3 separate regions of the Homo sapiens genome follow, and regions 2 and 3 are each linked to region 1. The links are contacts of gene promoters, found by promoter capture Hi-C in blood cells and fetal thymus (Javierre and others, 2016). All regions are on one chromosome and are shown on one strand. Each heading gives the region's core, a stretch centred on a gene start or on the middle of the fragment in contact. The rest is flanking DNA. Distances are from core to core; before and after follow the strand shown.

What was found. The method cuts DNA at HindIII sites, captures the fragments that hold promoters and counts their contacts. A CHiCAGO score of 5 or more calls a contact.
Region 2: a fragment that was not itself captured here is called in contact with the fragment with the promoter of OPTC in region 1 in 1 of 17 cell types (naive CD4 T cells); the score reaches 7.7 in naive CD4 T cells.
Region 3: the fragment with the promoter of PLEKHA6 here is called in contact with the fragment with the promoter of OPTC in region 1 in 3 of 17 cell types (total B cells, total CD4 T cells and naive CD8 T cells); the score reaches 9.1 in total B cells.

What each region holds. Positions count from the first base shown.
Region 1 is chr1:203,492,401-203,495,577 of GRCh38, forward strand. OPTC (opticin) reads left to right here and starts at 1,753. Exons shown (of 8, transcript NM_014359.4): 1 at 1,753-1,817. RefSeq lists a silencer at 1,246-1,474. The HindIII fragment of the contact is 16,129 bases long and covers 1-3,177 here.
Region 2 is chr1:204,135,706-204,138,783 of GRCh38, forward strand. It overlaps ETNK2 (ethanolamine kinase 2), which reads right to left. Exons shown (of 8, transcript NM_018208.4): 6 at 1,399-1,544. Among named protein-coding and RNA genes, the nearest start is that of ERLNC1, 4.2 kb to the right of the region's middle. The HindIII fragment of the contact is 2,049 bases long and covers 296-2,344 here.
Region 3 is chr1:204,358,569-204,361,547 of GRCh38, forward strand. It overlaps PLEKHA6 (pleckstrin homology domain containing A6), which reads right to left and starts at 1,361. Exons shown (of 23, transcript NM_014935.5): 1 at 1,126-1,361. RefSeq lists enhancers at 1-498, 614-1,249. The HindIII fragment of the contact is 7,112 bases long and covers 1-2,979 here.

The DNA of each region.
Region 1 (3,177 bases), core at 503-3,002:
CACCCAGCAGAGCCTCTGATGGTGTCTTTTCCCAGGTGGGGGGCTGCCAGGGGTACAAGAACATGCTCTTCTCTGGTGACCAGGCTCTTGGGCTGAGGGAAGCCCCCTCTTGCACCAGCTGGAGCCCAGGAACACAGCAAGCCAAATGCTGCCCTCGAGGGCCAGGCTATTAGATCTGCCTCTTCACCTGGTGTGCCAGGGCAGAGATGAGTTCTGCCAAGCCATCTGCTCTGAGGGCCTGGAAACACACGGATTCAGGACTCCTGGGGAAGAAGGTGGAAATGGGGAGGGTCATATGAACTAAAGAAAACTCTCTGACCAGGGAGTCAAAAAATCTAGGCATTGGCCCTGGCTCTGTGTGACCTAGGGCAAGTCACGTCACCTCTTTGGGCCTCACTCTCCTCATCTATACCACAAGGACTTGGACTAGATCTTTAGGGGGCCTCACAGCTGGAATTCAGTATCTGGTTGGTGGAAAGGAGTAGGGAACAAGGAGAGTCACTGAGAAACCTGGGTGGGCGCCAGGGCACAGGCTGGCAGAAGCTGGGGAAGACTCCTTAGCCACCCCACCTCTGCCTTCAGCAAGGACTTGCTCGGCAGCCTGCTCGAGGCACCAAGGAAAGGGGAGTGTTTCCAGATGAATGCCGTTGGCCCTCTGTATCTGTGGGTTCCACATCCGTGGATTCAACCAACCACAGATTGAAAATATTCAGAAAAAAAAAAAATTCACAACGTTCCAAAAAGGAAAACTTGAATTTGCTGTGTGCCAGTACTATGTGGAATCCATGTGAATGGAGTGAGGTGTAAGCATTGTGTTTGGTGTTATAGGTAATCTAGAGATGATTTGAAGTACACAGGAGGATGTGCGTAGGTTATGTGCAAATTCACCATTTTATATAAAAGACCTCAGCATATGTGGATTTGGTATCCACTGGACGTGCAGAACCAATCCCCCATGGTTACTGAGGGACGACTGTACATCTCTGAGGGTGCGGGAGAGGATACTTCCCAGGCCCCCGAGACCCTACACAATGTCTACTGGTGTTTATGATCCTTTCTAGGGCCCACCTCCCAATTTCCATTTGGTTTCCTCCTAGCAGATTTAGAGAATTTCCCGTATCCTCATGATCATCATCTGTGAACTTGAAGTTGGCTTTCAAATCCGATCTCATCCCCCATACACCTTCTCTTTGAACTACCTAGGCCTGCAGCTCCTGTCTCTGGTGATTTTATTCAATTATGGTCTCTGTGCTGGCGCTCTAGGTGAGGGTGAAGTGCCTCATTTCCACCTATTTTTATCTTTGGATTCTGGCTATGAAGCTGAAGCCTTGTCACTCTCTGGCTGGAGAAAGAAGCTGCAAAGACAAGCTCTATCTCTCCATATCCCCCGACTCCAGCCTTCTCTGAGGACTCAGAATCTGAGGGATGGGGCCCCTTCCTTGCAGGGGATGGCACTCCCTGTTCCTCAAAGATGTGGCCTTATCAGGAGAGTGGACAAGGAAAAGAAAGAAGGAGCTGACAGAGTAAGAGGAGAGAGAGCAGGAGCTGGAGGTGGGGGGTGAAGCGGAAGGTGGGGGGAGAATTCTCTTTTGTCAAATACAGGAATGGGGCAGGGGACCCCCTGAGGAAAGAGGAGGGGAAACAGCTGGACATCAGAAGGAATGAGAAGTCTGATTGGTCGCAGGCCTGGCCAACTCCTTGCCCTCCCCCGGGCACCACTGTCTAACCCAAGCCCCAGTTCAGACAGCCTCCACCAGAGTCCCCACCTTTCTGGAAGCTGCAGGGCTCTCCATCCAGGATCCAGAAGCATTGAAGGGGTAAGGCTCAAGGTTGAGGCCTCTGGCCATCGGTGCGCAAATGAGGGCAAAGTGTTTGGCTGGGGCAGGGGATTGGGAAGGGAAAATGAAGAGAGTTTAGGCCTCTGGCCAAAGAAGTTGGACAAGACTTTTGGGTGGGCACTAAACTCTCTTAGAAAAATTTTTTTTGAGATTATGTAATTCGTTTGGGGTGAGGTATGGGAGGTAAGGTGAAGAAACACCTCTTGCTACTGCTAGAGGCTTGCCCCCTTGCCCAGCTAAAATTAAGAAAGGGTGGGGAGGTTAACTGGGCATGGTAACACACGCCTGTAGTCCCAGCTACTTGGGAGGCTGAGGCAGGAGGACTGCCTGAGCCCAGGAGGTTAAGGCTTCAGTGAGCTGAGATCATGCCATAACACTCCAGGCTGGGCAACAGAGTGACACCGTCTTAAAAATAGAAAATAAAATAAAAATTAAAAGATAAAAAAAATTTTAAAAGAAAGAAAGAGGGAGAGTCTACTAGAAACTTGTGCAGCTAGCTTTGGGGAGGGCTGTGTTAAGCCTACACTGGGTATGACTGTTGTATACACTTATGCCTGGATACAAAACCACACCACATGCATTTCCTGACCCGTCTATACATATACGAACTACATGAACATTTGTACTCACATGCATATCACATACATACGCAGGCATCTGTGTGCACACACACACAAATATACACAGGTATCTAAGGAAATTTCCAGATGCGTACACACTCATGCAATCACACACAAAGAACTCTTTTATCTGTAATAATCTGTTTCTAAAAAGCTGCATTTAGAAGTATATTTCATAAACTAACATTCTTTTTTACATTGTATGTTTCATTGTAAGTCCATGTCTCCTAAAGAGACTAGGTGCTCCTAGGAAGGGCTGTGCCTCATTCATTCTGTACCCACAGAGACAAGTCCTGTGCCTGGAACTCAATAGACACCCATAAATGTTTGTTGAGCAAATGCATGAATGGATGATCTTTATAAAAAACCACAAGAGTCAACTGGGCGCGGTGGCTCACACCTGTAATTCCAGCACTTTGGGAAGCCAGGGTGGGTGGATCACCTAAGGTCAGGAGTTCGACACCAGCCTGGCCAATATGGTGAAACCCCTTCTCTACTAAAAATACAAAAATTAGCCAGGCATGGTGGGTGCCTGTAATCCCAGCTACTCAGGAGGCTGAGGCAGGAGATTCGCTTGAACCCAGAAGGCGGAGGTTGCAGTGAGCCAAGATCGCACCACTGCACTCCAGCCCGGGAAACAAGAATGAAACTTCGTCTCAAAAAAACAAACAAACAAAAAGACCCCATAAGATTATTTGATGTTGACATTCTCTAAATCG
Region 2 (3,078 bases), core at 70-2,569, 640 kb after region 1:
TCTTAAAGTCTTAAGACTGAGGAGGAAGAACCTAATGTAGACTCTGTTTTGTGCCAGTGAGGAAAACAGAATAGGGAATCCGAAATTACAGAAAAGTAAAGATTGTATTTAGCTCTCTTCTGTACTGTGAAATTCAAGGCAGCTGACTTGTCTTCTTACTTCTGCAAGCCAACATTAGCAATCCCTGGGCACACACCGGTGGAGACCTGGCATGAACCAGGTATCTTGGATAAGGGGCACTGAAAATTGAGAACTGACAGCACAGTCATTTGAGCAGGAAGAGCCTGTTGGGAAAAGCTTACTTAGAGTTCTGAGTCAGTGGAGGTAGTTACACAGAAGTATGAGCTTGATATTCTGTATCTTCTCTAAAGGTTAAAAAAATATATATGTATATACACACACACATATAGCCAGGCATGGTAGCTCACGCCTATAACCTTAGCTACTCAGGAGGCTGAGGTGGGAGGATCATTTGAGGCCAGGAGTTAGAGACCAGCCTGGGCAACATAGCAATAGCTGATCTCCACAAAAAGTTTAAAGAAATTAGCCGGGCATGGTGGCACACCTGTAATCCTAGCTACTCAGGAGGCTGAGGTGGGAGGATTGCTTGAGCCTGGGAGTTTCAGGCTGCAGTGAGCTATGATTGTGTCACTGTGCTCCAGCCTAGATGACAGAGCGGGACCCTGTCTCAAAAAAAGTATATATATATATATATATATATATGCCGGGCGCAGTAGTTCACTCCTATAATCCCAACACTTTGGGAGGCAGAGGCGGGCGAATCACCTGAGGTCAGGAGTTCAAGATGAGCCTGGCCAACATTGTGAAACCACGTCTCTACTAAAAATACAAAAAAACTAGTTGGGTGTGGTGGTACATGTCTGTAATCCCAGCTACTTGGGAGGCTGAGGGCAGGAAAATGGCTTGAACCTGAGAGGCGGAGGTTGCAGTGAGCCGAGATAGCGCCATTGCACTCTAGCCTGGGCAACAAGAGTGAGACTCTGCCTCAAAAAAAAAAAAAAAAAAGTATATATACATATATATGGATGAATTTAACTGCAGCATGAAGGGCTGAGGTTAGGCAGTAGAAAGAACTACTTATTCAAACAAGGGAATTGCTAACACAGGAAGCTAGGATATTTCTTGGAAGTATTTCTCTAGAAAGGAGAGAGCCTAGACTTGGTGGGGCTTGGGGAGCAGGGAACAGGGCATCAAGTATTAAGAGCTGCCTAAGATGGCTCTTCCCAGGCTTCACCTCTAGGGTGGGGTCAGGAGCCAGGGATGGGTGTCCCCAGGCTCTCACCTGACCCTGGGCTCTGGGTAGGAGGCTAGGTGGGTCACCAGTCCCTCCTGCTAACTCCTCCTTTCCTGCCCCAGCCCTAGAAATAAGGCACTCACCAGGGCAAACTTGTTGACTTGCACGTAGAGCCTTTGCACCTCCCTGGGGGTCACGGCCATCCCCTTTTGTGCCTGCAGGTAGTAGTGCAGCCACTGCAGCTGGGTCTCCCGCGCCGGGTACAGGCAGTAATCCACCTCATTCACGCCTGAGGGGGAGGCAGGCCAGACAAAGTTGCTCAGAGATGGGCCCACCAAGGGTCTCCTCAAGCTCAGTAGGTGTTCCCATCTCCCCTCAAACTCCCATCTCCTTTGATCTTTGGGGCTGTGCCCAAGGAGGCGGCCCGAGAAGGCAGCTTCTTTGATTACTAAACTCAGCTAGTGTGGGGTCTACCCCATCCCAGCTAGGAGCACTGTTTCTGTGGGATTGAGGAAAGCAGAGAGAGAGGTAGACTGGTTAAGGGGCAAGACACTGTCCTGGGAGTGACAGGAACCCCTCAAGACAGCACCACTGTCTTTCCCAACCCCTGCACAAAAATGATGGTGCACAGGAGGCCCTCAGTTAAAAGCACTGGATAAGCATTACTAGCCCTAGGTCTTATGCTAACCTTGTTAGCCTTAAGGGAACTCTTTTCTATCACTGGCCGAAATTTCTTCATTTATCAAATGAGGGAGCTGGACTTCATGTAGGGATATCAAACATGGCTTCCTGGTGTTAAGCTGGCTACTTAAAAACATCACCTGGAGAGCACCCCCACCCCAGTCCAGTTCCCCAGATGGCTCTGATGTGTAGCCAGGCTGGGAACCCATGGATCAGATGGCTCTGGTTTCTTCCAGCCCCACCATAGCCCTCCAGCTGCCAGCCCAGTACCACCAGCCTCATCCTGGGCATGGTAGAATAAACCACAGCTTCAGAGCTGGTACAGAAAGAAGTGGTTTAAGACAGGAGGACCAGGACTGGGCCACCTTCTCTAGGGTTCCCTCCTTCCTCTTCTTCTTGTCCTTCTCAAGCTTCCTTTATATCCCTGGAGAAACATACACAGTCTCCTGAGGCTCCAGGAGCGTGGCTAGAAAAGAATCTCCTGGAACAGATGTACAAACGGAGGCCCAGAGAGGAGAAGAAATGCACCCAAGGTCATATGGTGGTTAGAGGCAGAGTCAGGGCTGGAACTCTCATCTCCCAATGCCCAGAACTGTGTCTTCCTCACTCCTGCGCACCCATGAGGCCCCTCTCCCTAGGTCTGGATCTCCCTAGCTCTCTTCCTTCCCCCAGGCTAGGTTCTTCCTCCTCCATTCTCAACTTGAGAGCAGGCTGCAATCTACCCCTTTGGAGAAATTCCAGTTGGATTTTGCTCTGTGCTGTGGGCAAGGAGGACTTAAAATGCTTAAGAATTATCCCTTGTGGAAAGGCCAGGGGGCCTTGCAGCCAAGCATTCCCGGACCCAGGGCCCTGCCAGTGCCAGCCTCTGCTCCATGCCACACCCCGAGGCTCAGCTGCTCTGCCCAGCAGAGGCTCCATCACCCTGGGGGTTCCTAGGTGTACTCTCAGGTACAATCATTGCTCGACAGATTGATCACCTGGGGTTCCAGAAGGAACACAATTGGCCTGATGGGGCTGGAGAATGGCTGTCCAGTTGGCCTGGGCATGCCTCTCTATCCTGAGCCACAGGGCCTGGCCCCATCATGTGAACACTTTACTGTGCTAGTCTGGGGACAGCTCTCCAGCCCCAGTGTCCAGCTCCG
Region 3 (2,979 bases), core at 111-2,610, 870 kb after region 1:
CTGCCCCACCATGCAGGAGACCCTCAGCAGAGTGCACCACTCAAGTGATCAGATTGAGGGTAAAGGGTCTACAGGGCTTTGGGAAGAGCCTCCAATCCCTGAAGGCTGCAACCTCCTCTGACACCAGCTCTGAGCTCCAGCCTCCTCCCCACCACCTTCCACCCTCCTGCAGCTCTCCCTCCCCACCCCTGTGCCCCGGGGATGGCTCTCCCTCTATCCCGGTTCTCCATCTCTGCTCTCCCAGGCTCCACAGCCCCCTTCCCTGCCCTGGCTGGCCTGTTGTCTCAAAGAGCATTTCCCAGGAGCCTCTTCTCCCTTCTTCTCCCTTCTCCCCCACCCCCGCCACTTTCCTGTCTCGCCCCGCTTCCCTCCCCTTCCACTGTAGCCCTCCTTACCCTTCTCTGGCCAGTCCCCCAACTGTCCTCCTTTCCTCAGACTCCTCACACAATACCTCGAGGCTCTTAGCTGGCTGCAGCCTGGTCCCATCATTATAAATGCCATCCCCTCATTCCCTGCCCTCCTCTACCACATACCAGGCTCCAGCTCCTTCAAGAGCTCCCCACTAAATCTGAGACCCCCAGAGCTCAGATGCGTCCTAGGAATTGGAATCCAAGAGCCTCTGTCACCCTTCGACCCAACCTCTGACTCATAAGAATGATACACACCCTGACCCCTCCCCACGCTGAGGAAGGTGAGTCCCTGGGGCTGACCTGAGCCTGACCCTGGACCCCCTCCCTCTCTCCTTCCTGCTGGCAAGATTAAAGGGAGGGTGGGCTGGCCTCTCTGTGCTAGCTTGCGTGGGGGACCCCTGCTGGACCCTAGGAAGCTGCCAGCCCCAACGCTGCCTTCATCCAGGAGATGCAATTCAAATGTAATCAATTTAAACAGCATCAGCCCTGACAGGGGACTCTGGAGGTGGGGGTGGGGGCACAGGGAGGGCTATAATTAGCATTCTCAGCATCCATGATCCCCAAGTAAGGCTGCCAAGGATGAGAGATGGGGAAGCCAGTGCTCCGCAGTGCAAGCAGCCCAGGCTCACGCGGCAGACAGGCAGCTGCCAGCCCTGACCAGAGCCCAGCCTTCCTCCTCCCACCTCATCTATGTGATGCATGAAAACAGACTCACCGGCTTCTGAGGTGTGATCCCCGCGCTGGAAAGCTCTAACTCTGCGAGCCCCAAGGCACCCCTCCCCCCAGCTCAGGCCAGCTGGGGTCCTCCTCCCCCGCCCCTGGGGCCCCCTTCTGCAGAGCGGGGCTCCGGATCTAATCTGATCTAATCAGTCATCTCTCCGGCTGGCAGGTCCCTGGCGCAGGGAGAGGATGCTGTTGTGGTTACTGCAGGATCCAGCATCTTTCCCAGGCAGAGGCAGCTGGGCATGCTCCATCGGCTCCCCCGGGGATTTCAGGGCCACGTGACTCTCCCTCCCCAAGCTGTCACTTAGGATCAGGAGTAAATAGTCCCCGAAAAGGTTTAACTCCATCCACACCAGCGACAAGCTGCTAACCATCCACGCAGCCTGCCTGCCCGGGAGAGGATGGGGTGGCTCAGCACAGCCTCCTGGGCCTTCCACCACCAGGAGAAGGCTGCCCCCCAAAGGGGAGCAGGGCCACCGTCTGGGTAAGCTGCATTTTTAGAGTCCCCCACAAGAGACTGCAGGGAGCCAGAAACTGCCCAGGGTCTTAGAATCATGTGTGGGGCCTCACCCAGCCAGCCTGGTGATCACCTTTCACCTCTGTGGCTGTCTACTCCAGAGAGGGGCACGTCTCTAGGTGTCAAGAGGGCTTGGCTGGGGCCCTGGGGCCTCCCCATCCCCCGCCCCCCCCCCAATATGGTGAATTTAGAGAAATAACATTTGGAGAGGGTTGGGGGCCACTATGAGATGCCAGGATGAGTGGGGTGTGAGTGGGTTGTGGAGCCACTGCCCCCACACCAACCAGCCAGGCTCCTCCCAGGCCCTGGGAGGGAAGTCTGTGCTCCTGTTCCTTCCGTTGCACATTCCTTTACAGATAAGGGCTTCAGTTGGTAAAAATGATATAGGTACTCAGATCACACTAAGACAGACCCACTTGTATTGGAGTCGAGAGGCTTAATTTTTTAATCAAGTTGTTCTAATAATAAACAAAAAATGCAATTATCAGGTGAGTGGGGCCTTGCAGAAACCCTTTCTCTAGCTCCTGCCCAAATCGGTCTTGATAACCCTGAGCAAGGATGCTAGCCAAGCTACGGGGTACCTGGGTTCTGTATTATTCAGGATCAGAGGCAGAAGGAAGGACTTCAGACAATAGGGTCGTAGCTCTGTTTCTGCTTAGACAAAGATTGCTTTCTGCCTCAGTTTCCCTTTATCCACATCTCTCTCAGTTTTCCTCTATCCACGGATTCTCTGTGACAATGGGCAAGTGTAATAAAAACACTGATTTCATAAACAGGATCAGAAAGATGGAAAAAACCAAAAGATTCCCACCTCAACCTCCAGGCAGGCTCGCTGGTCTCAGTCCCATCTGCCCCTTAAACCTGGAAACTGGGGACTGAACCAGATGAGCTTCTGGAGTCACTTCTGAATAGAGAAATATGTCAAGAAGCAGGAGCTAGAGAAAGGGTGTCTGCAAGGCCCCACTCACCTGGTGATTGCATTTTTTGTTTATTATTAGAACAACTTGATCAAAAAATTAAGCCTCTTGACTCCAATACAAGTGGGTCTCTCTTAGTGTGATCTGAGTACATATATCATTTTTACCAACTGAAGCCCTTATCTGTAAAGGAATGTGCAACGGAAGGAACAGGAGCACAGACTTCCCTCCCAGGGCCTGGGAGGAACCTGGCTGGTTGGTGTGAAGGCTGTGGCTCCACACCCCACTCACACACACCACAGCATTGGAGGAAGACAGGGACCTAGAGAGCTACTGAAGGGACTGTCTTTCCCACCCCAGGGCAGGCCAGGCTGGAGCCAGGAATCTGGGGTTAGGGCAGCAGGCGCAGCTC